7 separate regions of the Homo sapiens genome follow, and regions 1, 2, 3, 4, 6 and 7 are each linked to region 5. The links are contacts of gene promoters, found by promoter capture Hi-C in blood cells and fetal thymus (Javierre and others, 2016). All regions are on one chromosome and are shown on one strand. Each heading gives the region's core, a stretch centred on a gene start or on the middle of the fragment in contact. The rest is flanking DNA. Distances are from core to core; before and after follow the strand shown.

Region 1 (2,995 bases), core at 455-2,954, 390 kb before region 5:
TTGAGTTTAAAGGACTCAGACACAATTGTACTGACTACCTGCAACCTCTAGAATTAGTGTAGAGTTGTGATGCTTGTAGAGTTCCTTCATCAGATAAATAATCTTTGTTGGCCTTTATTCTCAATAGGTTTCACTCTTTCAAAAAAAAATCAGTAATTGCATCGCAAGTCTGTCAGATAATACTTTAATTTAGAAAGTCTTTTTGAAATCAGTTAGTTTGGATAATACAGCATTACAGTTCCATAAAGCCAAGGTCTCCAAAAATCAATGCCTGTGCTTAAGAATGTAAGTTACATTAACTTCATTCTTTAACACCATGAAACATATAAATTTCAATGGAAGAAGTGTTTCTGGGCACTGGCGTTTTATGAACGGGTTATACATATATCTATAAGAAATGTGTGTGCATGGGTGTTCAGAAACATTATAACAATGTAGTTTAGATATGAGTAATGCTGGCCAATTGGGCACATGCAAGTTTGGTTTCCTGTGGAATACTACCTATTTCAGTATGCCTCTCCTTATTTTCTGGATTCTTAAGTTGCTATAGTTTTTCCCAAGGATATATACATATACATGGATGTTTATACTAGGTTCTTTTATAAAAGAGCTAGTGACATGGAATAGTCATTCTTTAAAATATAACAAAAATAACTGGTAAATGTGAAAATTAGACTTGGATACCTATATATCAAAAGCTACCCTTGAGTACTTTCAGAGACCCAATAGGAAAAAAAAGCTCGTATAAGTGATTATTGCCTTCACATTAGCACCCAGTTTTTCAAAATGGCTGGTACTTGCCAATATGCAAACAGAAGCATAATGTTTTACTAGGAGAATAGATGTTATAAAGATGTTGAAAAATGAACACCTTGAATTCATTAATCTTAAAAACATTGCAGAAAGGGAGCAAAAAACTATGCCTCTGTCTCCTCTCACGTGCTAAGAAACAAGAATGATATTAAAAAATTAGAGAACTGAATAAGCTTACCTTAGCCACAATAGCAAAGTAAAGGAGGAGGAATAACTGAAGAGATCATAGCAACAGAGCCATTGCTGGTTGCCTGTGTTAGCTGTGAAGAGAACATTGGCAAATTAAATATCCAGGCCTCTGTAAAACCACTATCTAAGCTTCCTCCATTTATCTAAGCGAGGCTATCATCACCACCCACTTCTTCTGTTGCCTACTGAACTGCTAAGAAATAATACATTTTGCAGATTTTAGTTTTATTGTCTTTATTTTGTTCTTTCTTATTTCCCCCACTTCAGGGGTCTTTTAGGAGATATTTCACAACTATAGATAAAATTTCAGAGCTGGATGGAAGCCTAACAATACTTAACTTTTTTTACTCCAACTTGCATCTAGTTATTGCACTTACGTGTTTCCTTGTTGTTCAGCGTGTTGTTGATTTTTGAACAATACTGTTTACTTCCTTGATTAGCTCTCTGATTTATAGCTTAGGTAAAGCTCACACATGTCCTGGCCACAGATATCACACAATATTTTATTTTGGCACCAGGTTGACATTACACACTGTTCGTTGTAGTTCCATTTCAGAGAACAGTCCACCCCCATCTACACCACATGCCTGGCATTGATCTAGGTGAAGCTACATAGCCACAAAGGGTGTTCATTATGGACACCATGACGGAATGCCATGACACACAAGTGCAGAACCACTGATCTTCTCAAACTCCTCATTTGACATATAATACAAATGAGTCATAAAGAGTAGACATGATCTCCTTAAGTCAGTGGCAGGTGTGGGATAGGAATCCAAGTTTCTCACTTTCCAGTGTCCTTTTCATTGCTTCCATGCTAAAGAGGGAAACTCAAAAAAGCAGTTATAGTTCCAAGCACTGAATCATAATCCTGCACAATGGGAAGCTAACAGCGTCTTGTTTGCTGAAGCCCTGTGTAACTTTCTCAGGCTTAAAAACACAAGGAAGCATAGGTGTTGCGGGAAATTATATGACTGACCTACCACCAATAGATAAGGTATGTTGTGCAAATCTTCTAGGGAGGGATTTTTTAATTTGCAGTGATCAGTTGATTTGCTCCTGCCTGAGCATTTTATTTAGGATTCTATTCTTAGACTGTGGAATGTAACTTCTCTGTATGAAACTACCTGACCCATATGAGATTTTACTTAAGACTTTGGCCATATCAGCACTATTTTAACTGGAATGAGTCTCCTAGTAGCTCGTATCCAAACCATCCACCTTTGGCCACACAGATGAATGGGCATTCTACCTGAAGGCCACCTGAAGAGCAGAACAAGCTTTTGTTCCCAGTCCCACCAGTGACTTATGATACCTTAGCAAAGCCTTCTTCCCCATATTTTCTTCCCCCTAAAACTGTCCCCACAGGTGGTATTTTCACTGGAAGGGAGTGGTGAGTAACTTGTTTTTATGTTTGCAAGGGTAAAATAATAAATGTTTTAATGCTATTATTAAATGTCTAATTTTAAAATAAGAAGCCTCCTAGAAATTTGTCTTACAAGCTCTCTGGAACTCTCTGGAACCCTCAGGTTTACATTCTGTATCTGTCTTGCGCATGTCTTTCAGATAGAATACCTTCCATTTCCTGTCAAACTCATGTTAAGCTTTCACAATCTAGCTCATTCATTGACTACTCTTCAGTTTTTGTTTTCCTCATCCTCTCATGAAAACTTAGTATTCTGTCCCCTTGTGTCACTTTATTCAGAGATTTATTCTAACACTCACCAGTTTCAATCGCAATGAATTGTTTATATGTCAGCCTTTCCCCTTCCCCCCAAGAGCTTCTCTGGGCTGTCTTCTCCTTAAAACAAAGAACTGTATAGTTGGCTCTTGAACAATGTTGGTTTGAACTGTGCAGGTCCACTTATACACAGGTTTTTTTTTTTTTTTTCAAACAAATGCAGATAAAAAATACAATATTGGTTGGATGCAAAACTGCATATATGGAGGGCCAACTTTTCATATATGTGGGTTCTTCAGGGCTGAGTGCGTA
Region 2 (3,127 bases), core at 490-2,989, 370 kb before region 5:
TTATTTAAAGAAAGCATGCCATTCCAGTCAAAGCCTGGTAAAATAACCAGTTTCTCCAGTTGTGCCCTGTTACAAAAGAAATGAGATTTTTATTGCAGTTATGCAAAAAACTAGACTGCCATAAGTTGAGAATACTCACAAATAGTTTCTAAATTCTGGAGGAATCAGGTAGAGAGAAAGCAATATGCTCCAAATTTCATTCATGGGAGTATACTTTACTCAATTGCTAAATGTTCTAAATAACTCAAAAAAAAAGTTTTCTTGGCTGAACACAGTGGCTCATGCCTGTAATCCCAGCACTTTGGGAGGCTGAGGTGGGCGGATCACCTGAGGTCAGGAGCTTGAGACCAGCCTGACCAACATGAAGAAACTCCATCTCTACTAAAAATACAAAATTAGCTGGGCGTGGTGGTACATGCCTGTAATCCTAGCTACTCGGGAGGCTGAGGCAGGAGAATTGCTTGAACCCAGGAGGCAGAGGCTGCGGTGAGCTGAGATCGCGCCGTTGCACTCCAGCCTGGGTGACAAGAGCAGAACTCTGTCTCAAAAAAAAAAAAGAAAAGAAAAAGAAGAAGTTTTCTTGACTCTGAAAAACAAAAGGATTCGCAATGTTTATCACATCAGCTCTCCATAAGTCCTAGAAGTTTGTTTTGTTTCCTCTATTCCAATAACACAATTTCTACATTATCAGAGACCTGCATTCAAGAGAACCCATCAGAGCCCTATATCTGATTATAAACTGCCTTCTGAAAAGGATCAAAACAAGACAACTGTCTGTGGATGACAAAAGTCTTAGGACAGCCACTATTAAAGCTACAACTGACTAGGAATTTTGGTTACTTCTGTGGCACACAACAATTTTACATAATAATTAAAAGGCTTAATATACATTAAATTATATCAGAATTATAGAAGCTTCCTATAATTTTGGAACACATACAAATAACATATTTATAAAAATACAGTCCAAAGAAAGCCAAACATCATTTCATATTTGACAGTGTTTCCTGTGTGATTTTTATATAAGAAAGCAAATACATCATTTTTGCACTTTAGGGGACCTAATATCTAAAAGATTAATTAGGTCAGAAAAAGACATACTTTATAATTTAATTTTGGAAAGTTTGTCACATATCAAAGGTTTACAACACTGGATATCACTAAATAGAATCCCAGGTCACCGTAAGTCATTCATTTAGCCAAAATGATAACCCAGAAATTTTAAAAAGGAAAAGACCTGTACTCTGATAGAGAGGAGACTCAGCTTTCTAGACAACAAGATCCTATGAAGACAGCATGAGGCCAGCTGAATCTGTCTCTTCTCTCTCCCCTCCCTTTTTTTTTTGTAGTTTACTCAAAAGGCAAACAAGATTTGTTTTCATTGTCTCTAATATTACATAAAAATCTTTTTCAAAAGAGAAAACTAAGTTTCATGTTTGCTTTAGGGCATCTTTAATGCTAAAGCTAGTTTTTAATAAAATTTTATAAATTTATGCAGTTTTAATTAGTTTGACCATAAGGTAAGATTTTCATAAACTTCTTATAACTCTTTACAATTTTCTGTTAAACAGATCAATTTTTTTAAAAGAAAACCCTGCTATTCAGACACATGGGCCCAGATTCTGGCTCCACATCAGTGTGCTTTTATTTTAATGTTTGAGCTATAGAAAAATACTAAACAATTCCCTTCAACTCTTAGCCAACTTGCTGCTTCTCACAGAACTTCCTTTATCAGATCAACCCTTCACAAACCTTTCTAACTTGCTTAAACCTTCAATTTTGTCCCTTTACTCTTTTAGTTTAAGACATTCTTTAAAACCCTCTTAACTAGACAAAATTACATTCCCTTTAACAAAAACCATATTCCCATGCCTTCTTATAATTTCCCACCAAAACCACATTCTACTTTCCTTCTATACCTTGCAACCTTGCATGTAAAACTCTTTTTCCAGTGGACTCAAGTACATGTTACACTATTAACTTTTTGCATCTTTCATTTTTGGTGAAAAGCCTGATAAGTAAATGATTTTAATATATACTAGCTGTGGAGCCTAGGACACCAGACAGAAGTACAAATAAGGTTTGATTCTTCCTAGTACAGGTAGGCGGCATGGCTTACGCCACATGTCCCTAGGCCTTATCTAGAACCTAATGACTCCAAAGTAGGTAAGTCAAACAGTTTTCAAAAGTCAAAGAAGCAGTTTATTACCTTAAAGCATTTTAACAAACCTAATATCTGACCTAATTTAGACCAAATGTTTTGACCAAATGTCTAAATTTTGAAGACATTTTTATTTTACCAGTAATCTTTAAAATTGTCTTTATTTCCGAAAGATTACTAAAGTCACATGAACAAAAACTTAAAGTTTCTATTTTTCTAACAAAATATTTGATTTAAGCCCTTATTTTTACCCCCAATTGTTCAGAGCACTTTCATATATAAACATCACACAAACAGACATGAATATACACAGAAAAGAAGATCCAGTAGTTGTCAAGATTTTCATTTGTCAATAGTTGGATTACTGGCTTCAGGGTGGAGCCCTTGGAGGAATAGGGTGAGGAAAGCTTGCAGTTTTCAGGGCCTAATAAGCAGGCACAGCTGGAAGGCAAAAACAGATCCCCAAAATTAAGGGTCCCATTTTTATATCACATCCTGGATCCCCAAAAAGAGGAAAACACTATGGAAGAAGACAGTACAACGCTTTTACTGTGCATTTTATTGCAAGGCAACCCAAAGCCAATCGGCCCATTTTGTAATCAGCCCATCTACATGGGAGTCTCATCTCTCAGTGGAAGGTGGGGATGTTTGCACACCTTCCAGATGGCCAAGCATGCTTCTCTAATCCAAGCATGCAAAGAGCCAAGTATCCCTCCATAACAGCCAATATCCCTTAAAGTTGCTATACACCAAGGCTAAAGGCTTTCCCATAATGCAAAGTAATTTCTGATACCCCCAAAAGTAAAAAAAAAAAGGTTCAGGTAACATAACGTAAAACCAAACAAAGCCTTAGATTTTGAGAGAGATCTATTCACTTTCAATTCCTGGGGTTCCATGAGGAAAACAGGTTTTTTCCAGAATGGGGTCTGTGGTGCCACCTCTGTTTTTCCCCAGGAGTCCAGGCTT
Region 3 (3,138 bases), core at 134-2,633, 310 kb before region 5:
CATGTGATTCATCAGTGGAACCCAGAGTGTTCTGGAAATCACTGCCTGAACAAAAGCAACCCCTCAGAAGCATCTTTAAAGCCAAGCTGTGAGAACAGAGAGGCCTCTCTTCTCGCCATAGATCACATACCTCTGCTTATTTTGTTCAGTGAGAAAGCAGGAGGGAGGATGAGACGGGCAATAGGCTGGAGGGGAAAACAGCTTATATCAATTCTCTGGCACGTTCTTAAATTAATGTCATTCCTAGCACATGGTTTTATATTTTTAGCCTGGAGAGGATATGATGCTCGGAGGAAATTTAAGAAAATAAGCAACAGAAGGAATGAGTCTGCTGCTCATAATCAAGCAGGTAATTAAAACATCATTTTCACAGTGTCCACTTGAAAATATTCTGTGACTAACTTCTGTGAATGTAGAAAAGCTGAAAGGTTAATAATTCAGGAGCACTGGAATGAGTCAAGAGTTCTGGGAGACAGGAGTCCTAGTGTTCTGACCCTCCTTGTGTGATAACTATGATGCTAACGGTGAGCATGAGCATTTGCTGTTTGCCACACTTGGCTAAGGATGCTCTGACTGGGTTCTCTTGTATACCTGATATTATAGAGGAGGAAACTGAGGCACTGAGAAGTGAAGGGACTTGTCCACCATCACACAGTTCATCAGTTGCAGAGCCAGCATTTGAACACAGGCCGTTTGGATAGAGTCAGCATCGCATACTGCCACCTGAACAAAACCCTTTCCCTCTCGGAGTCATATGTCCCTCGTCTGTTAAATGAGAGCGCTGGTTAAAAAGGTCCAGAAGGTGCCTTCCCATTTTGGAATTCTCTAATTATATGCAAGACCTGTTTCTTAGCATCACAGAGGAGGAATCACTCAGGGAGTTTCCCAGCAAACTGTTTCCCAAATCCAGGCTTATATGTGGCTATCATGGTCCTCTGGGCCCCATGGCATGAGCACATGGTGGCTTTTATGGCTCGGCTTGCTATTGGCAGCCTGAGAGGTGTAAGCTCTGGTTTCTGACTCATCCGTCCCCTCTCTGGCTCTTCAGTCACTCTGCTCTTCTGCAAATGGCAGTGTCCACTGTGGGTGCGGGTGCCAGGCTGGGCTCCTTCCCTCATTTGAAGCTGCATATTCCTACTCGAGGCTCTGGAAGAAACAGGCCCCTGAGCTCCAGGAGCCACAAGAAATTAGAGACAGAATGAGAGAAATAGCCAGGCTGGTAGACTCAGCAGCAGAGAGAGTGATAGGATTTCACATACAGCTGAGCTTGAAGGAAACTCTTAAATAAAACAGCTGCAACCTCTTGAAAGAAGTCCCTCCTCGGAACCTGGCTCCAAGTAAACTTCTCAGAACTCTTAGACCACTGTAGAAGCCTGATGTCTTCATTCAAAACGAAAATAGTTGGGCGGAAAGAGTGCTATTAAAATGCAAATGTTAACTTTTAACACCATCTCCTAGGAATTCTAAGCTCTACAACTTCAAAGCCCCAGGAAGAGGGATGCAATTCTTGTTACAGCTTAAGAGAGAACTCAAAGTGCATCATTTGTTCCCTACTTGCCTGCCTCCCAACACGCACACAATCTCTCATTAAAACAGGGTACCAAACTGATTTCTGATCTTGCAGTTTGGTACAAAGGCCAACATGTGTTTTAAAATTTAAACTTGCTTGAGCTTATTTATTGTTGATCCACTGAGTTCAGTATACAGGAATCATAAATCCAATTTTCCCTAAGTGAAAGTCATCTTTTGAGTGCTCCCTGTCTTGCACTCTGTTAATGCCAAGTGAATACTGCTGTAAAACAGAAATGGGTCTGCTTCATCATCATGGATCAGGATAGTAATAATTGTATCTTTTCAGTGGAGCACCTATGGGGTAGCTACCATGGAAGGATAATGTTGCTCAGCGAAACTTTAAAAAGCATGTTTCTTTAAGGGTGTCTCCCTTTTTTTTTTTTTTTTTTAGCCTTGCAAGCACCCAGCAGGACTTTAGAAAACACATTAAGGTGCCTTCCTTTTTTTTAGCCTTGCAAGCACCCAGCAGGACTTTAGAAAACACATTAAGGTGCCTTCCTTTTTTTTAGCCTTGCAAGCACCCAGCAGGACTTTAGAAAACACATTTCTTTAAGGGTGCCGTCCTTTTTTTTTTTTAGCCTTGCAAGCACCTCCCCTTTCTTAGCCTTGCAGCCAAAGTGTTCTTGCCTATCAAGTGATGTTGGGAACTTCCATTAACTGAGTCTGCAGGGGCTTAGATGGGCATGAAGGTGGCACCAACACCACCTCTGCCCTCTTAGAAGTAGTGTGGCAGCCAGAGCAAAGGCAGACAGCATCTGCCCTTTAGCCAACACCGTGGACAGGAATTGGTGCGCTGGTTTTGTGTTGGTGGTAAAGATGCATGAATAGGGTAGCAATCTTTGCAATTTTATGGGCAGTTTACTTTTACTTGGGAATATTTTCCTTATCTTTAGATTTGAAGGCATAATTGCGTTTATCTAAGAAGCAAAGCAACTCATTCCGACGTTTCTGTTTGGGGTTGTGATCTTCCCCAAACATAATCTCATTACAAGCCTCTCTTCGTCCCACTAGGACATTTCCTAGTAGAACCAGACCCAGATACAGTGGCTCCCCGCTTTAGGAGCCTGCAGGAAGTGGCTTAGGGATGTTGTCACAGCACAACCATTTCCGGTTGTTTTCTAAGGTTATTCTCTAATTTATTATTTTTTCAACAAATCATTTCATTTGAAATTTAGATTCTGTGGAATGCATTTGTATTTCTAGTTCTGGCCCATAGTATTTTCTTAAGTGGTGTTGCTAAGATATGTTATATATTTTTAAAAGAGCGGCCCTTGAAATTTAGGAAGCATTTGGCCTACATGTTGCTACAGGGCAGCACATATTGAAATTTGTTTTCCTTTCATCTCCTTCCCAATAAAAGCAGCCGTGCGGCTTATCCCTTTAGCTTCCTCAGAACTTCCTTTCAGAATTCCCGATCTATTACGGCACATTCACATACCAGAAACAAGATGCCTTTTCATGCTGTCAACCTTTTTCATCTGAAATGTAAATTAATTCTTGCTGGTATGCCTTGACAGAGATCAAAGTCAGGGTATTAACCTTCCCAGGCTTTCTCCTCATAAGGAC
Region 4 (3,244 bases), core at 177-2,676, 500 kb before region 5:
TCTGTACGTCGCTTCTTATGCCGGTAATCACACTACTTTGATTGCTGTTGCTTTGTAGTAGGTGTTGAAATAAGAAAGTGTGAGTGCTCTTTTCTTATTTTTCAATATTGCTTTTCGCACGGGGTAACTTTTTATTTGCTCCTGACTATGTCTTATTTCTTTGCACAACCTCTTCTACCACTCACAGAACCAAGTGTCCTAAGATGCACGTTTCTTCAAGGTTTCATCTTTTCTCACAGTCACAAATGTGTCTAGACTACAGTTCAGGTTTGTTGTGATTTCATGATATGACTACTTTAAGACTGGTCTGGGACAGGGTAAATTGATAGAAGGGAGCTGAAATGTGACATGAGCATCCTTCTCTGACTCATCCAGACAGCGTTTACTTAATGGTCCATTTACTTATCTATGAGCACTGAGTGTGAGAATGGCTCCCCTAATATTTAGTACAGCTCCTGGCTTTTAGTAGGGGATGACTGTGCCTATTTAGTGTATTGCTGAACAAAGAAATCCCTGACTAAATGTGAGTAGATGTCATGTCATTGCCTAGGCAAGGGTTCTGACCCCATTGACAAAGGACTTGCTGGTGGTGTTAATAAACCAGTTCTTAAATTGTGATCTAAGTTTGATCTGAACCAAGAGGCAAATGCCATCAAAGTGAATCCTGCGTGGAAGGCTGGTGGGAAGGAATAGAAATGTTTATTTTGCAATTAGCTAAGGATAAGGGACACTTTTCTGATTATTTTGCTTGGTAGCTCTGCAGACCACTGTTCTAACCACATTCACTGAGGGTTAGAGGCCAGTTGAAATCACTTCCGTTTGGTATCCAGGGAAATCACACCTACGTACAATTTTGGGGGCATGTTTCCCTACAATTATTGTTTGAATTCTGGTTACACTTAAAGCTGATGAGTTTCTTGGTGCCTTCTATGGAGTGCTGATTTTCACCTACATACCTGCAAATGTTTCTAAGTTACACATAGAGGAACTATTTATATTTCATTTGTGATATAATCATGGTGTTTTATTTTCTTAACCATTATGGAATTGAAGGACCTAGACAACTGGGTATCTGTTTTAGACAAATGTAATAAATGCATTAGCATTGCCCCTTCTTCTACTCCCAGTAATTGGCATTCCTGCTTTCTAAATTTGTGATTTTTTTGACTGTAATAAGAAATAAAATATTGCACTGTTTGGCACTTTGAAGTTGGCCTGCCTGGGTTGTTCACCTTAATACTTAACATCCTTGAGATAGTTATTTCACCTTTCTCAACTTCGTTTTCCCCCTCTGTAAAATAAGGGTTATGACCTTTCCCTTGAAGGGGAGTAATATGGATTATGTGAGGCATGTAGATAACATGTATGGCCAAGTGCCAAACATAGTGCTCAGTAAGTACATGAAAGCTCCCCATATACATACTAAAAAAAATAAATAAATAAAGGTTAGGGGTTGGGGTTAACCTTAGAAAAATGATTCCAGATGAAGAGAGGGAAAAACCTACAGCTGAGCCCATCTTCAGGGCCAGCCTTGGTCTATGTCTAATCTTGCTGCTCTCTGATCCAGTGATAGCATCTCTGCACTTGAACACTCAAAATGTTCCTGAAAGGGACCTACATTATTCAGATATGCAGCCAGCCACCTGGACCCTAGAATCAGTTTTAATGTCAGCAAGCATGATCTCTTCAAAATGCTCCTTTGAGAATATCCTGAATTCATTTAGTATTGTTTCCCCCTCTTCTGACAGGGCCTCTCTTCCTCTTTCCACGCCCACCTCTTGGCCACCCTCTCATCCCAGCAGCTGCAGGCAAGATTTCTCTCCAGCTGTCCATCAAGTCTTCAAAAGCCAGCCGGAATGTAATTGTAATCTATTTTCCACCCCTCAATAGTAGCGGGTGAAACACACACACAGACACACACACACAGCTCAAAATTGCAAGGAGAAGGGAGCCAGAGCTACCTCATGACTCACACACAGCCCTGCATGGATAATTACTGCCATTCATTACTGGCCCAGGAAAGAAAACAAGGGTCCAATTGGGTTTTCGTGAACCACAAGGCTGACAAGTAAGAGGGGGAAAGAAGGGGACTGTGCTCCCTCCCTACAGCCCCCCTGCCAATGCCATTTTCAGAAAAGTAACATCCTGCTGGCCTTCTATTCCTGGCGCACATCTTTTATTATGTTTATTTAGTGTGCAGTTTAGAATTGATACTGTGGCCAAATTCTGCCAAGCACCTCTCCCCAGAAGGACCTTGAGCCAGGTCCTTCTTTGCCTATTTTGCCTATTTTCCTGTATGAGGGCAAAATAGGCTCCGTTTCATTAATTCATGTATATGTTCAACCAACAGTTTGCATGAATTCACAGAAAAGAGCTAGATTCTGTAGGAAATGTCCAAGCTGCATTCATCTCAATGAAGTGTGTGTGATTTGCTACCCACTGTAACCCCTGCCTAGTAACATCTCTTGCAGCCATACTAGGGTGCCATGTGCTGGCTCATCCCACTGAAAGCATTCTGTCCCTCCTCTGAATTCCCTTGGTTGTGCTCTCATCTTATCACCTTTCATTAGATCTTTAATTGTTGTGGACAGAAAACATCACTAAGAAAGGGGTAGTATATACAAAAATACATCTAATCAGCTTTCAGCAGTTTTTTATATTATTGGTGGGAAATTCAATTAAACTGTATTGAATGAATGAATGATCAAATAAAGAACTATGTATTTTAAACTAAATGTTTTGTGATGGCTATGGGGAGAGGCAAGTCCTAATGAAACAATAAGATTTGGGTTAGTTGGCAGAGATGGAAAGTCCTTCTAGAATGGGAAGTGTTGGAAGAAAAGCATCTTGTGCTGGTGCTGGGAGTGAATCTCTAGAATTAGAATACATAGAAGACTACGCTACAGCTGTATTACTCAATGTTGTATTTCTTACTCAGCATTACTCAGTTTTGTGCCCACTATGCTACTCAAGACTGGTCCATCAGTATCCACGTATTTCATTTGGCAACAGTCATTCTTGGCAGGAGCTCATTAAGTGTATGGACTTTGTACTGGGTGATTACGGACCCAATTGACATTTTTAGGACTATCAAGTTTTGCTTCAAATTACAGGCATCCTGTTGTTCTTAATGTTTTATTCTGTTGGTTTATGATTCTCACAAATCAGCACACAATTCCCTATTTCTTTCGCTTCTGAAAAGACTGAAGCTTTAGGAATTAGAAGCAGCATTTAACTTATGATT
Region 5 (3,372 bases), core at 702-3,201:
TCACGGGTTTTGGGAAAAGGTTGAGGCGAGCGGGCGTCTATGCTGGACAATGAAGAACGAGGGGCACCGGGAGATGTGTTGCCTCCTCCTTCCTGTCTCCTGCCCCGTGCGTCTTGAATGATTTAGCACTGGCACCTGGCTCCCTGATTGGTGCGAGCGTCTCGTTTAGGGAAGGCTCTAGGAGGGCCGGTGGATGGAATTCCGAGCTTCACCTGGTTGTATGCCGCCCACTTCAAGCAGCGCAGAGCAGCTGCCGGTTGAGTGGTTTGGGGGGACGTTTCCTACGTGGAGCAGACACCCCCAGCCTGTCCAGCCCCAAGCCTCAGTGCCCGGGGCTGCAGTCACCGCGCGCCCCGCCGTTTAGGATGTTTTTTGTGTCCTTAAAAAGTGCCGGGGATTTCATCGTCAGGTGGAGACAAGGCGACAAAACAGTAGTTTCTTTAGTACCAAAGGCAACGCGATTATTTCAAACCCCACAGCGAGATCCCTCTTGCTGATCAGGCCATGTCTGCCCAGGGCGGACCCTTCGATCTCCCTTATGGAACTCTCGGTAATTTATAATATTTTTGTGTGTGTTTCCATTGTGTTGTGGTGAAAGGCGATAAGGCATTCAAAGAAAACGGACGGGCCTCCGCTGAACCAGTGAGGCCCCAGACGTGCGCATAAATAACCCCTGCGTGCTGCACCACCTGGGGAGAGGGGGAGGACCACGGTAAATACCAGTAAAGGAATCACTGCCTACACGGTGTCACCCAGACACGCACAGACATCAACATTTTTGCCCTAAAGAAAAAAACTGGGGGAGAAGAAAGGGGAGAACTTAAACTAGTGACAGGGCGGTGAGGGAAGGCATGAAGAGGCAAGCCGGCGCGTAACCGTCTGGCCAGCAGCTCCAGGTGTGGGCTCCGCTCGGGCGCTGGCGGAGAGACCCGGGAGCGCAGGGCCTCTCCGTCTCTGGGCTCTTGGCGCCCTCTGGTGGGAATTTCTCTTTCAACGCATTTTTACGGCGAGGGGCTTCTCCCAACGCAGCGGTTCTTTTAACTACGCCTAAATATTGCAAAGGGAGAATCCTTAAAGCGCGTGAAATCGAAGGGGGAGCGGGCCAGGGCAAGGGGGGCTGGTCCGCCCCTTCCGGGCACCTCTGTGCTCGGGTGCCCCATGCGCGTGCAGCGGCGCTCGTGCGTGTCATCAACCTTCAAACGTGATTAATCAGGAGGCCTTCTTTTCCCATCACCAAGGGGGCCAAAGCGAGGAGCGAGCGCATAGCAAAAGGGACGCGGGGTCCTTTTCTCTGCCGGTGGCACTGGGTAGCTGTGGCCAGGTGTGGTACTTTGATGGGGCCCAGGGCTGGATGAGGAAACTGTAATTCCTCCATGGTCTAAGAGGTCTCCCCTCATTTCTGCCTCCTTTGCGGTTACAACAATCCCAGCTCCGTAGAGAGCCAACGAGGACACGACCCAAAGCGCGCTTTCGCTCAAGGAAGCGTCGCAGGGTCACAGATCTGGGGGAACCCCGGGGAAAAGCACTGAGGCAAAACCGCCGCTCGTCTCCTACAATATATGGGAGGGGGAGGGGAAATGGGAGAGGGGAAAGGAGGGGAGGGAAGAAGAAACGCTCAGAAAGGCAGAATTCTTCGTAGGAATTATCTTTTCCCTCCTCTCACCCGACAGCCTGCCTATTTCCAAAGGAAAAAAAAAAAGCGTGTTGAGTACGTTCTGGATTACTCATAAGACCTTTTTTTTTTCCTTCCGGGCGCAAAACCGTGAGCTGGATTTATAATCGCCCTATAAAGCTCCAGAGGCGGTCAGGCACCTGCAGAGGAGCCCCGCCGCTCCGCCGACTAGCTGCCCCCGCGAGCAACGGCCTCGTGATTTCCCCGCCGATCCGGTCCCCGCCTCCCCACTCTGCCCCCGCCTACCCCGGAGCCGTGCAGCCGCCTCTCCGAATCTCTCTCTTCTCCTGGCGCTCGCGTGCGAGAGGGAACTAGCGAGAACGAGGAAGCAGCTGGAGGTGACGCCGGGCAGATTACGCCTGTCAGGGCCGAGCCGAGCGGATCGCTGGGCGCTGTGCAGAGGAAAGGCGGGAGTGCCCGGCTCGCTGTCGCAGAGCCGAGGTGGGTAAGCTAGCGACCACCTGGACTTCCCAGCGCCCAACCGTGGCTTTTCAGCCAGGTCCTCTCCTCCCGCGGCTTCTCAACCAACCCCATCCCAGCGCCGGCCACCCAACCTCCCGAAATGAGTGCTTCCTGCCCGCCCTAGTCCCTGCTCTCCACGGGTGCGCTGCGCAGGGACCCCCCCCCCCCCGCCTCCCTCGTCACTCTTCTTATCCCTGCCCTCCGGATTCACGCCCCGGGGAAGCACGGAGGCTGAGGCTCTAGTTGAAGTGGGGCAAGAGCGATTTTCCCTTGAGCTTCCATGCTGCGAGCGCCTGTCCCTCCAAAGGGCGCCTGGGCAGCAGCAGCCGAAGGCGCTACTAGGAACGGTAACCTGTTACTTTTCCAGGGGCCGTAGTCGACCCGCTGCCCGAGTTGCTGTGCGACTGCGCGCGCGGGGCTAGGAGTGAGGTCGGAGGGAGGGTGTGGAGGCGATGGCCGGTGGGCCCTTCTCTGTGGGGTCCTCGATCTACCCAGATTAGCCCGCAATCTCTCTGTCCCGGGGCCTTCGGGCGCCATCGCGCCAGCGCCGAGAGTCGAGCAGGGGCGCCGCGCAAGATCTTTGTCCGCCGCCTCCTGCGCGCTGCGCGCAAGTTCGTTTCCCCGGTGACGTTCCCCATGCTTACTTACCCCACCCTCTCTGGATCTGTACCGCGAGAAATCTGGGGTCCTCAGGGGGCTAGGTAGAGGAGAAACGCTGAAACCGGACCGAAACCTCGCCCTAGGCTTAGCGATGGCTAAAAACCGGCTGGGATAAGAGGGAGGCAAGCAACATTCCGACTCGCTGCTTTCTGGCTGTCTGGAGTGCAAGGTGACTGTGGTTCTTCTCTGGCCAAGTCCGAGGGAGAACGTAAAGATATGGGCCTTTTTCCCCCTCTCACCTTGTCTCACCAAAGTCCCTAGTCCCCGGAGCAGTTAGCCTCTTTCTTTCCAGGGAATTAGCCAGACACAACAACGGGAACCAGACACCGAACCAGACATGCCCGCCCCGTGCGCCCTCCCCCCGCTGGCCCACACGCCGGCTGCTGAGTGCCCAATGGGGCTTGTAGCGGCTCGGCTGGAAAATCGCTCACTGAGCGCTCCCCTGTGCTCCTAGCCTAGTCCCCCACACCCTTGCGTCTTGTACTGGCCTTGGACCCCCACCCCGACCCCGACCCCGCCTCGTCTCGGCGCTTCACTCCAGGTCGCGCCGATGCACCGCCAGACTCGAGAGCGGCCCA
Region 6 (3,189 bases), core at 149-2,648, 410 kb before region 5:
AAAGTTGAAATCCGGCTCTTTTTTCAGACATGCTCCTGTAAACAGAACTAGTAGCAGTGCCCATCAGAAGGCTGCCCTCCAGCTTCCATTCCAGACCTTCCTTGGAGCAGCCGGGGTTTAATTCAATATGGAATCCCAGGAGCTCGGGGCAGGTGTGGAAAGGGCTATCTGGTGTTTCCTTACCAGAGACCCAGGGATGTAGACTCCTCATCAGGCGACTTCAGCACAGAGGTGAAGAGACAGCCATTATTGATAGGGGACATGCTCTCTGGGAAAAAAATCTATCCAAATAACTCTTCAGCTGGCATTTACATCCTCCCACAAATATTAATAACGACTTGTCAAATCTGTTCACAACTTCGGAATTTCCGATTTTTCAACCTTTGGCAAAATAAAAACCATTTAACAGCCTGGACCACTAGGGGGCGCTATGCAGAAAGTAAGGCCCTGCAGCCGGTCTCTGTTCTCCCTTGATTCACCCAACTGCGGGAGGAACAGGAACAAAGAGATAACCTCCGCCGCTGCGTCTTTTTTACCCCTCCCAAAGAGCTTTCCTCTTGTTTCTGAATCTTGTTTTGAAACTACACTCCACACCACTTGATAGAAACAAAAGTGAAAAATAAGACTAGACACAAACGTGATGTACCAATAGGCTTCCCAGTATTCCTGAGCTATATATTATGCATAGTAATTTCCTTTGAGATCCTAAGCTTGAGTATAGCTTAGGATTCTCCACATTTTGAGTATAGTTAAGAAGCCACAAACATCAAAACTTATAAGCATGATTGTGTTTTCTTTTTCTGGAATTATTTATGTAGGAATGAATTCAATCAACAAACATTTAAAGAACAGCTTCTAGTAATAAGGTACTTTTTAGGCAACGAGGGAAATATAGGAGTAAAGGTAATACGGCTTTGCCGTACACCAACTAGAACTTTCTTTTAACTTCATTTTCTATATGGAATTTTCTATACAGAATTGGGCACTAATTTATCTCCTTATGACAATAGTTGCCCTCAAACCTCGATTCTAACATGATTGTGCATCCTGTGTTGAATGTCAGAATATTACTTTTCTAAATTTTAAAACGTTCATAGTCTATATTTTTGGGGGTTATTATGTTACAGCCTTTGAAGATGGGAAACCTCACTGGACAGAAATAAGTTATGCTGTTCTTTGCCAATGCTTGTTTCAGGCATGTCCCTCTCGTGAAGGGGAAGGTGCCTATACATCTTGATGTTCCCACTAGAAGCAAGATCCCACACTATCCTGGCACTTTGGAAAAGAATATGCTAATATTTTCAATGCATAAGAAACCATTTTCTTGTCACTTTTATTTTTCCTTGCTTTAATTGTTTTATCGAAATTAAATGGAGCACTAGTTCAGTAAGCATATATATTATGGTCAATTACTTTACAAACCTCTTTTGAGGAATGAACTACAGGGAGGAAGGAAAAAGATCAAAGTTGAGGCCAGGCGCGGTGGCTCACGCCTGTAATCCCAGCACTTTGGGAGGCCGAGGCAGGCGGATCACAAGGTGGGTGGATCACGAGGTCAGGAGTTCGAGACCAGCCTGGCCAACATAGTGAAACCCCGTCTCTACTAAAAATACAAAAAATTAGCCGGGTGTGGTGGCGGGCACCTGTAATCCCAGCTACTAGGGAGTCTGGAGCAGGAGAATTGCTTGAACCCAGGAGGTGGAGGTTGCGGTGAGCCAAGACCATGCCATTGCACTCCAGCCTGGGAACAGTGCAAGACTCCGTCTCAACAAAAAAAAAGAAAAAAAAAAAAAAAAAAACTTGGGAAACCTTAGAGGCAATTAGCTCAAAGCATAAAAGGAGGTCCAGTGCTGGACTCCTCAATTTTGAAAGAGGAGAAGACGTTTGTTAGGAAGACCCCTAAGAGATGTTGGCAGTGGTCTGGCTCCTGATCTTGGTGGTGGTTACATGTATGCTTGCATTATATTTATTATGCTGTACATTTATGTTTTGCATACTTTTTTGTGTGTGCATTCTGTGTCATAGTAATGTTGGGTTTTTTTCTCCAAAAGATAGAGAAGACCCCTTAAAATACAAAGAGAAAAAAAAAGCTTGATGTGGTAGCGCATGGCTAGAGTCCCAGCTACTCAGGAGGCTGAGGCAGGAGAATCACTTGAGCCCAGGAGTTCAAGGCCGGTCTGGGCAACACAGTGACACCCCCCATCTCTGAAAAAAAATTAGAATTAAAATTGTTTAAATGCAAAGAAAAACTTTAATTTCTTTATCGAAGGATTCCTGACAGTTAACTTGAGGTTTTCTGGTAGCTAGATTGCCACTGTCCTTTGCTTTCAAAACAGCCCCAGGATCACTTTCCTGTTCTTTCAAGTTACCTCCTCTCTGGGTTGCTGGGCAGGTAACATTCCCTTCATTAGTATATATCAAAAAAAGTATAGTCATGCATAGCTTAATGATGGGGATGCATTCTGAGAAATGCATCGTTAGTTGATTTCATCGTTGTACAAACATCATAGAGTTCTTACACAAACCTAAATGATATAATCTACTATACATCTAGGCTATATGTTGTAGTCTACTGTTCTCGGGCTGTAAACCTGTACAGTATGTTACTATACTGAATGTTGTAGTTAATTGTAAGACAATGCCAAGTATTTGTGTATCTAAACATATCTAAACATAGAAAAGGTACAGTACAACTATGGTATGATAATGTTACAGGACCACCAGTTTATATGCAGTCCATTGTTGACCAAAATGTACATGGCGCATGACACTACTGGGGCTTGATTTAATTTCTTATCAAGGTTGAGAGGATCAACCTCGGTGTGTATATGTGCAATCATAATATAAAATCATAGAGAGTAATCCAGTTGGTATTTTCTTGTTTCCAGCTCCCACTTTCCAGACTATTGAAGAGATTAAAAAGCATGAGGAGTAGAATAAGGAGGCCCAAGGTCACCAGGAGACAGGGCTCCTCCCAGGTTTCTGCAGCCCCCTTCTGCTTACACCTGGCTGCATCTGGCTGTGGAGCTGCCTGTGCCTGAGAGGCACACTCTCACTGCAAGGTTCTCAGTGACCTTGTGGTAAAAGGAGGCAGCCACAGTCAATATGAATTCTCTCTGTTCTCTTCTCATGCTTATGCAGCCAGCCTTTTGCCTGCAGATGGGCCACTTCAGACATGATGAAATGTTC
Region 7 (3,179 bases), core at 239-2,738, 480 kb before region 5:
CCTCCTCCTTTGTCTCTGATCCAGCAGAAGGGGGAAAAAAATTTAACTGCTATTCTTTCTGGGTAATACACAGATAATTTATAGGTTTTTGAATTATAAGATATGAAGGGTAACTAAATTCGTATGCAGAACAGATAAATCATCTCCTTCCTCTAATCATTCTTCCTTCTCATCTTATCCTTCCCCCCTGCTCTCTCTTCAGATCCAAAAGATCATATATAGTCTAGCCTCAACAAATTAGGTTTTTTGGACATACTATGCTTTTTTACATCCTTGTGTCTTGGTACGTATTGTTTTCTGAGCCTAAAATGGCTTCACTCTCCTTCTCTATCTTGAAAAATCCAATCTAATTTTCAGAAGCCAGCTCAAGTTTATCTTCTATAAAGTCTTTTGAGACTCCCTAGATTGAGTAAGCAGCATCTTAATTATTCTACCCACATATGGTGCTTGTGCTTCTAGTATATCACTTACCATATTATGTTCTAATCATATGGTAGGAAAATACTCGGAAAGGTTATCTGACTGAGGATTAGACTCAGCTGCATGTACCAGTGGCTTGAAGAAGATGGAAGTTTATTTCTCTCTCTTAGTAAGGAAGATTAGGGGGAAGCAGACTAGAGCTGGTCTGGCAGCTTTGCAATGTCATAATGAATCCAGTTTTCTATCTGTTTGCTTTGTCGTATTCAGCTCATAGTTTTCACTTTCAAGTTCATCTGATGTCCACAATGGCTGCTCAAGCTCTAGCCATCATACCCATGCTCTAAAAAGAAAGAAGGGGGAAGGAGAAGAATGGCATGTCTCCCCTCTTTTAAGGAGACTTTCTGGAAATACCATATAATACTTCTATTTATATATCATTGACTAGAACTTGATCACAGAACCACATCTAGCCGTAAGGAACTCAAGAAATTGTAATCTTTATTACGGCAGCAGTATGCTGAAATAAAAATTGTACTATAAGAAATGAGAAGATAATGGATATCGAGGGGCAAATTGCGATCACATTATCTGATGTATATTTATTTCTGGTAATTCTTGCTGCTTCCCATTCCTCTGCCTATTGAATCTGAGCAATCCATGGCTTTAGGAAGCAGTTAGAATCAAGGTAAAATCAAGGATCACATATGATGGCTTTAAAATTTACAGCCATAATTCATGTGTGCAGAACTGTCACTTTCTTCATTTTCTGAACTTGAGTTGCCGACAAGCCCTTATTTCCATGTATTGCTAGAAAAAAGTCTCATCAATTAAAGGTAATATAGTCACTTCTGTTTTGAAATCAGATCTCTTCGTGGTATTCAAGCAAATCAGGGCTCTTACCCCATCCCCACCCCTCTTTTTTTTTGCCCTCTCACCAAGAGGTTGTCTGCTTACCTAAAGTTCTTTCTGCCATTCTCTCATTCTCTCGGACATCCAATTATTAGGTATGGTATATGTCTGTCTCCTTCTCTACCCAGGAACTTCACGGAGTCTGGGACATTGTTTTGACTGTCTGACTTTCTCCAGTGCTTATTGCAGAAGTTGATACATAGGAGATAGTTAAAAATGTGACTATGAATTTATGAGTACACTTTAAATGCATCACATAATTAATCCAAATGGTACCATAATGATCTGAAAATCCTGTACAATTAAACGTCTATTTCACTAAAGCCCCTAGCACTATGTTTAGAGCTTTCTTATAGCACTAATAATCCTCAGCTCTGTTATAGTAGTTTGTGTGCTTGCCTCACCCCTCATTAGGGTGTCTGCTTCTTGAAGAATGTTCCTGATCTTTGTAACTTTCACAGGTCCTGAGAAGGCCAGGGACATAGTAGGTCTTCAGTCAATGAAAATGAATGACTACAGGAATAAGGGTTGGCACTTTATAATCTACCACTAAAAAATGACTCTCATATGAGAACAAACAGATTTTATTAGAGCTATTTAGAATGATATCAATAAAAACAAGTTGATATTTTGCCTTTAATGAAATTCTTCTTTCTTAAGAAAAAATTGCTGTTATTTTTTCAGAAATCCTCCACCTACTTTACTTCATCCAGAAAAATGGTGTGAAGAATTCAACCACTTTATTTCACAGTGAGTATTTCTTCCACTAAAAATTGCCCATCTAGCAAGGCCTTGAGCAGTGATTGGAGAAATCCAGGCTGTGGAATTTACTTGACACTAGAGGTTGTTATGCCTGTTAGCACGTTATGACTCGGGGTTTGTTCTAGTAAATGATAGAAGATGCCTTTGCAAGATGTGAAAAGTAAGGCGTTCCATTTGACTCTCAGTTATAATAAGTCCTTCTTATCATATGGGTCACATTTATCTGAGAACCTACTTTGTCTTAGGGCAAATATTGACAACTTGTCATGTTTAATGGGGAGAGATGAAACATCTAAAAATCTGATGCCTACATTAGGACCAAAGAGAAGACAGAAGGTAGCAGCCTCCAACAGAGTTTTTGCAGTGTGAAAGTTGGGCTTCCTCTAGGATCTGTGGCATGGGAACAAGGGTCCAGTTTCCAAGATGATAGAGGGACAAAGTAGAATCTCAGGCTTGGGGTACCAAGGTAAGGTATCCCAGCCAAGGCTCAAGGTATGAGGAACAAAATGAAGGCCAAGATGATGGTGTGACATACCTGGTAGGAGCTATGTCACTAGGCAAGTATTGCTGGGACTCAGACAGGAGCAGAATCAACAGTGAAACCAATAGTGGCTCAGTGCTGGGGTCATGGGCTTTTGGACCACACTGGTCCTAAGTCTGAGAAAGATACTCAGACTACTGGAGGAGGTTACAGGGCCCCAAGCTAGGGGCCTGGTGAATTGAGGGGACAGGAATCTAGACCAGGCATTACCAACCATACCAAGGCAGAGGAGCTTGGAAGAAGTCCTGTAGGATCTAGTATATGAAACAAGGTGTTCAGAGGTCGTGGGAGGAGAAAAGAAGTGACCAAATTAGCTGATAAATAAGAAGTGGGGAAGGGTCAACACAAATTTTTCTAATTTATGCCTCTGTGCAAACTTAGCTTTCACAAAGAAGCCAGGCAATAAAGCAAAGTGGGTCTTTTGATCATCTTCCTTAATAAATCACAATACAGATCAACAATCTCTTATCCGTATTTCCAAAATCCAAAGAGCTCCGAAAGATAAAAGTTCTTTTGTAGTTGAGTCATTTAGCAGCAAAACCTAACC

What was found. The method cuts DNA at HindIII sites, captures the fragments that hold promoters and counts their contacts. A CHiCAGO score of 5 or more calls a contact.
Region 1: a fragment that was not itself captured here is called in contact with the fragment with the promoter of GAD1 in region 5 in 12 of 17 cell types (naive CD4 T cells, total CD4 T cells, total CD8 T cells and 9 more); the score reaches 15.3 in naive CD4 T cells.
Region 2: a contact is called between a fragment that was not itself captured here and the fragment with the promoter of GAD1 in region 5, in 6 of 17 cell types (non-activated CD4 T cells, naive CD4 T cells, fetal thymus and 3 more). The highest score is 7.8, in non-activated CD4 T cells.
Region 3: a fragment that was not itself captured here is called in contact with the fragment with the promoter of GAD1 in region 5 in 6 of 17 cell types (naive CD4 T cells, non-activated CD4 T cells, total CD8 T cells and 3 more); the score reaches 7.4 in naive CD4 T cells.
Region 4: a fragment that was not itself captured here is called in contact with the fragment with the promoter of GAD1 in region 5 in 3 of 17 cell types (naive CD8 T cells, fetal thymus and megakaryocytes); the score reaches 7.0 in naive CD8 T cells.
Region 6: a contact is called between a fragment that was not itself captured here and the fragment with the promoter of GAD1 in region 5, in 14 of 17 cell types (total CD4 T cells, naive CD4 T cells, total CD8 T cells and 11 more). The highest score is 37.8, in total CD4 T cells.
Region 7: a fragment that was not itself captured here is called in contact with the fragment with the promoter of GAD1 in region 5 in 9 of 17 cell types (fetal thymus, total CD4 T cells, megakaryocytes and 6 more); the score reaches 14.1 in fetal thymus.

The regions. Positions count from the first base shown.
Region 1 is chr2:170,427,134-170,430,128 of GRCh38, forward strand. All of the region lies in intron 22 of MYO3B (myosin IIIB), which reads left to right. Among named protein-coding and RNA genes, the nearest start is that of MYO3B-AS1, 78 kb to the left of the region's middle. The HindIII fragment of the contact is 1,151 bases long and covers 1,130-2,280 here.
Region 2 is chr2:170,449,233-170,452,359 of GRCh38, forward strand. The region is part of intron 23 of MYO3B (myosin IIIB); the gene reads left to right. Among named protein-coding and RNA genes, the nearest start is that of MYO3B-AS1, 100 kb to the left of the region's middle. The HindIII fragment of the contact is 1,653 bases long and covers 914-2,566 here.
Region 3 is chr2:170,501,517-170,504,654 of GRCh38, forward strand. It overlaps MYO3B (myosin IIIB), which reads left to right. Exons shown (of 35, transcript NM_138995.5): 28 at 269-349. Among named protein-coding and RNA genes, the nearest start is that of MYO3B-AS1, 150 kb to the left of the region's middle. The HindIII fragment of the contact is 5,344 bases long and covers 1-3,138 here.
Region 4 is chr2:170,311,953-170,315,196 of GRCh38, forward strand. All of the region lies in intron 7 of MYO3B (myosin IIIB), which reads left to right. Among named protein-coding and RNA genes, the nearest start is that of MYO3B-AS1, 37 kb to the right of the region's middle. The HindIII fragment of the contact is 3,561 bases long and covers 1-3,207 here.
Region 5 is chr2:170,814,936-170,818,307 of GRCh38, forward strand. GAD1 (glutamate decarboxylase 1) reads left to right here and starts at 1,952. Exons shown (of 17, transcript NM_000817.3): 1 at 1,952-2,113. GAD1-AS1 (GAD1 antisense RNA 1) reads right to left here. Exons shown (of 4, transcript NR_197761.1): 2 at 2,783-2,980; 3 at 1,919-2,097; 4 at 1-1,550. RefSeq lists a silencer at 1,767-1,846 and enhancers at 1,934-2,103, 3,343-3,372. The HindIII fragment of the contact is 11,655 bases long and covers 1-3,372 here.
Region 6 is chr2:170,408,813-170,412,001 of GRCh38, forward strand. All of the region lies in intron 22 of MYO3B (myosin IIIB), which reads left to right. Among named protein-coding and RNA genes, the nearest start is that of MYO3B-AS1, 59 kb to the left of the region's middle. The HindIII fragment of the contact is 1,380 bases long and covers 709-2,088 here.
Region 7 is chr2:170,333,372-170,336,550 of GRCh38, forward strand. MYO3B (myosin IIIB) reads left to right here. Exons shown (of 35, transcript NM_138995.5): 8 at 2,014-2,079. LOC124906090 (a long non-coding RNA gene) reads right to left here. Exons shown (of 4, transcript XR_007087292.1): 3 at 1,375-1,508; 4 at 557-760. Among named protein-coding and RNA genes, the nearest start is that of MYO3B-AS1, 16 kb to the right of the region's middle. The HindIII fragment of the contact is 8,589 bases long and covers 1-3,179 here.